Regions from separate parts of the Homo sapiens genome. Here region 2 is linked to region 1. Evidence: promoter capture Hi-C in human tissues and cell types (Jung and others, 2019). All regions are on one chromosome and are shown on one strand. The core of a region is centred on a gene start or on the middle of the fragment in contact, and the rest is flanking DNA. Distances in the headings are between cores, read along the strand shown.

Evidence for each region. The method cuts DNA at HindIII sites, captures the fragments that hold promoters and counts their contacts. A contact is called where the count stands out against the background at its distance.
Region 2: a fragment that was not itself captured here is called in contact with the fragment with the promoter of REPS2 in region 1 in 1 of the 25 tissues and cell types used here (hippocampus).

Annotation. Positions count from the first base shown.
Region 1 is chrX:16,945,241-16,947,946 of GRCh38, reverse strand. REPS2 (RALBP1 associated Eps domain containing 2) reads right to left here and starts at 1,289. Exons shown (of 18, transcript NM_004726.3): 1 at 813-1,289. The coding sequence starts at 1,085. The HindIII fragment of the contact is 7,319 bases long and covers 1-2,706 here.
Region 2 is chrX:16,992,629-16,995,328 of GRCh38, reverse strand. The region is part of intron 1 of REPS2 (RALBP1 associated Eps domain containing 2); the gene reads right to left. Among named protein-coding and RNA genes, the nearest start is that of REPS2, 47 kb to the right of the region's middle. The HindIII fragment of the contact is 9,956 bases long and covers 1-2,700 here.

The DNA.
Region 1 (2,706 bases), core at 40-2,539:
AAAACAAAAACAGCGTCTGGTATGTATCATCCCCTAGTACTTTTCCAAGTATAGAACAGCCAAAAGGTGGTAGCTATGACATCCCTTACCTTTCAATTCTATTTCAAGTCCAAGTAATGATAGATGGGAAACTACAGCTGTTTCCCATGGTGGACTTCTGAAGTCCACCTCTAATCTCAAATGGGAAATTTGGTTTTGACTTGACAAACGTCCTCTTGCAGTCCCGTGTCCCTGTTCTGCAACTTGTCATTAAGGTTTTCGATTTAATATTAATATTTAGAAATATGTTATGGGCAATTACATATAGTAGATACTTATATATTACAACTACATAGAGAGGACAACATTCAGCCCTGGGCCTCGAACCCTACGGACACACACACCCTTCAAGTTGAAATCCCAGCAAGGCACCCTGAGAACCCACTCAGGAGAGGGAGGGGCAGGAGCAGCGAGCAGAGGTTAAACCAGGCAGCAGCCAAAACAAACACCACTTCCAGAACAGGACAAACTTTGGGTCTGGGCGGCTGCAGAACCCCAGAAATGGCCGGGGGAGGGGAGAGAGTGTCAGACTGTCTCAGGGAAGGAAGATGGGGAGAGCGCACCCAGCACTGGGCGAGGAGCTGAGCTGCGAAGGAGGCTGGTGTCCCCCGGGGACAAGGGCGTCGCCGCCATCCCCGGCTGCAGAGTCCTCTCTCTCAGAACTGGCCGAGGCCTCCGGGTCCCTGGGGGCAGCCCTGTCGCCCCACTCGCAACCTCCGCCCCCGCACACACTGCCCCACAGACCCGCAGGGACAGGAGGCGGAGGGACCCACCTGGTGCAGCGTCTCGGCGGGCAGCTGCGATGCCCGAAACAGGTCAGCCACGGGGCCGGCGGCCGCAGTGGCCGTGCCGGGGGCGACTCTGGCGGCCTCGGGGGGCCCAGACCCGGGGCCCCCGCCCGCGGCGCCGGCACAGCGCGCGAAGAGCTCGGAGTAGCACTGCTGCTCGCCCTCGCTCAGCAGCAGCGGCGGCGGCCCGGAGCCACAGCCCCCGCCCGCCGCTGCCGCTGCCGCTGCCGCCGCCGCCGCCGCCGCTGCCGCCTCCATGGGGCCAGCAAGGGGGCGCGGCGGAGCCCTGTCCCTAGCTGGGGTGCTGCTGCGTCCGCCACAGCCACCGCCTCCTCGGCCTCAGCTGCCGCCGCCGCCGCCGCCGCCACCACCGCCGCCGCCACCACCACCCCCACGCCCCGCAGCTGCCGCGCGGCCGCTTCCTCCCGGCGCGCGCCGGCCCCACCCCCGGGCTTGAATGTTGTGCCTCAGCTGCGCGGCACATGGAGACAGGCGCGGCGCGGCCCAATCACAGCCTGAGATGTCACCCCGGCCCCGCCCCCGCCTCCCGCTTGCCCCGCCCAGCGCCAGGTAACTAACCCAGCGCGCCGCACGCCCTCCGCCCGTCACAGGCTCCGGTGCCCAGGAAGGCGGGCCCCGTGCCTTTCCAAGCCTACCCTGCAAGGGAGCGGAGCCTTTGGCCATCCGCCCTGGTTGGGAAGGGGGCATCTAGACCCAACTGGAGAGAAGCTCTTTTCGGGGAGCGGGGAAGGTTGTGTTGTTTTCTTGCTAGAAGGCTGGGGCAGGTGTGGTGCCCACACCACGCCATGCCCTTTCCAGAAAGGGACAAGGCATGGGAAATTAGGTTTCCTTTCTTCCATAGCAGTACTGCTTATGTCCTAAAGAGCCGGAAGACGCAGACGTCTGTACAAACAGGGTCCCACTGACCCCAGAGTGTTCAGGGTGGTATTGGAGTTAGGCCCCCTCGTCAGACATGGCTCAAACCAGGAGTTGAGACTTTATAAGGAATAACATCGGTTACTCGTAAATACTAGAGTAGTAAGAGTACAAAAAGACCCATTTTGCAGATCATTTCGTCCAAACCCTGCTTTTACAGATGAGGAAACTGCCATGTTCACCTTCATTCCTCCAAAACCAGTTGAATATCTCGTATGTAGCAGATTTATATGCTAGGGCCTGAAAATACAAACCTCAGTAACAGAGGATCCTCACTCTCCAAAGGAAGCACTTATTTTAGTAGTAAAACAGGCATTTTTTTTAGTACAAAACTTGTTCAAGCTCACACCAAAAATCAATGCGAAACCCCACATTTTTCCACCCCGGTCCATGTCCTCCTCTCTCTCTCCATTCCTCCCTATCCTAAAGCATACACACTATATTTTTCAAATGTGCTTGCTTCCCCCTGGCTAGTACTCTAACCACTTTTTTTTTTTTTTTTTTTTTTTGAGAAGGAGTTTCGCTCTTGTTGCCCAGGCTGTAGTTCAATGGCACAGTCTTGGCTCACTGCAACCTCCACCTCCCGGGTTCGAGCGATTATCCTGCCTCAGCCTCCCGAGTAGCTGGAATTACAGGCGCCTGCCACCACTCCTGGCTAATTTTTGTATTTTTAGTAGAGACGGGGTTTCACCATGTTTGTCAGGCTGGTCTCGAACTCCTGACCTCAGGTGATCCACCCCACCCCCACCCCCCCACCTCGGCCTCCCAAAGTGCTGGGATTACAGGCTTGAGCCACCACGCCTGGCCCTCTAGCCGCTTTTAAAAGAAAGTCCAGGCCGGGCGCGGTGGGTCATGCCTGTAATCCCAGCACTTTGGGAGGCCAAGGCAGGCAGATCACTTGAGTCCTGGAGTTCGAGACCAGCCTGGCCAACGTGGTGAAATC
Region 2 (2,700 bases), core at 177-2,676, 47 kb before region 1:
TTCACACAGATACCATTCATTCAGTTCTCTTATGTGGCACACTATGCCAGTGAATGGAGTCTCTGGGCCCACCAACTGAAAGACACATAATCTTTGTACCTTAGCAGCCAGAGACAGATGCAAGTTAGGCCCCACTATTGCCTGGCCTTACAAATGGCTATCAGCACACATCTGTGAGAGAGGGAGCAGGTGTAAGGGGGACAATCTCAGAACTATTTTCTTTCAATAAAACTTAAGAACAAACCACAATGCTGGCTTCATCATAACTGTGCTGTAACCAACTGAGCTAACCAGAGTATACAACAGAAACTAATGAACATTTGCCATTTTTCTTTTGGCTGCCTGTTATCCGAACCCTTTGCCAGTGTTTATGAAATTTTCCACCTGCTTTCAGCTAAATAAGCTAAAAGTGTCAGATTCTCACTTTCCTGATTTCTTTTCAATCAGGGTATGGGCACAAGACCTACGCTCTGCCAGACACCACCCACACAGGCATTTGTTTTTGTTTTTATTATTATTTAAATAGCTTTGGGGGAACAGATGGTATTTGGTTACATGAGTTAAGTTCTTCAGTGCTGATTTCTGAGATTTTGAGGTACTCATCAGCCGAGCAGTGTACACTGTACCCAATGTGTAGTCTTTTATCCCTCACCTCCCACCCTTCCCTCTGAGGCCCCAAAGTCCACTGTTTCATTCTTATGCCTTTGCATCCTCATAGCTTAGCTCCCACTTATAAGTGAGAAAATACAACGTTCGGTTTTCCATTCCTGAGTCACTTCACTTAGAATAATGGTCTCCAACTCCATCCACGTTGTTGCAAATGCTATTATTTCATTCCTTTTTATGGCTGAGTAGTATTCCATGGCGTATTATAAATGTTACGTGTGTGTATATATATGTGTGTGTGCATATATATGTACGTGTGTGTATATATATGTACGTGTGTGTATATATATGTATATATATGTACGTGTGTGTATATATACACACATATACATACACACATATATACACACATATACATACACACACACATATAAAATATATTTTTGATATATTTTCTTTATCCACTCGATTGATGGGCATTTGGGCTGGTTCCCTATTTTTGCAATTACAAATTGCACTGCTATAAACACGTGGCACACGGGCATCTGAATCAGTAATGAGTGCTGTGAAACAGCAAGAACAGTAGATGATTGTTTTCTAGTGACAGGAACAACATCCAGTTCCAGGAGCAGCCCCATACCCAATGTCCAATGCAGGCAATGTTGGTGGTGTAGGTGGAGGCATCCAATATTCAGTAGCTACCAATTCTGTGAGGTTATCTGGCTGTAGTTCTGGCAGTACTGCCCCCTAGTTGTGCAGTTTTCAAGCCTTGTCCCTGGTCTTCCTAAAGAAAGATGTAGCTACACAATATCCTGCCAATAAACTGCTTTTCCGCTTAGATTTGCCATAGGCAAGTTCTGTTATTAACAGGACTGTGTTACTAAGAATCCTGGGTTTTATAGAGGACAGGTCAAAGGTGAGCCCTGATCATTCCAGAGCTTCCAAACTTGGCTGTATCAATTATCTACTACTGTATAACACACCACCCCAAAACTTAAGTGCCTTAAAGCAACAGCATTTATTTAATTCATAACTCTGGGGGTCAGTAATTTGGGCTGAGTTCAGCTGGACAATTATACTGATCCGAGCCAGGCACCATTGATCTCAGATGAGGGTCACTTATGCTTCTGCAGTTGACTATTGGGTTGTCTGGGTACCTTCATTTTCCTCCACATAGTCTCTCTTCCTCCAGGAGGCCAGCCAGGGCTTTTTTTACAAGGTGGCAGAGTTCCCAAAGCAGCAAGAAACTGAAGCTCTACCTCACGCCTAGGATCAAAACCCACACAGGGTCTTTTCTACTGTATTCCAGGGTCAGACCAAATCAACAGGACAGCCAAGATCCTAAGAATAGAGAAACTGACTCTACCTCTTGATGGGAAGAGTTGCAAAGTATTGTGAGCATTTTGCAATATACCATACCTTACTGTTTGATAAAGAGCACAATGGGGAGGCTGTCACAATACAGATAACACTAGGGAAGTCTCATTTATTAGAATTGCATATACCTAGAATCTGTACTCTCACCACTATTTCCGTGAACCATCACCAACTCCAGCCACTGATACAACAATAGCTAACTAGAAGCAATAAACACACAGTGCTGAGCCAGCAAACTCCATAGCCTGTAAACAGTTTGTAAAGGTCAGGCCCCTTGGATCTCTTATCCTGCAGGACGTACTAAAGAGCATGGACTATAGTCATGTATATATAGCTGGTGCCATGTAACACCAGCTCCCTGGCTTTGGCCTCTCTTTCTTTAAGCCTCAGTTTTCCTCCCCACAAGACTCAAAAATAATATTTTCTGGATATGAATAAATAGTCTGATCACTTCAGACAGAGGACTAGTTAACATCCCTAAGTTACAGAAAAACCTAATATAACTGGAAGGGAACCTAAAAAGCCTCTGCTCTGAATTTGTTTATTACGATGTTTAAGAAGTTTAACCAAATCCCCTTCCAAGAGACACTCAAATTGGCAGACCCCACAAACATTTATTTAATTGAAACTAGATGTTTCCTTGACAACTGTTGAACTGAGAAAGGAAAGGCTCCTGCAAGAAGTCTCCATGGAAACCGCCCAGTCCTTGCATCTACC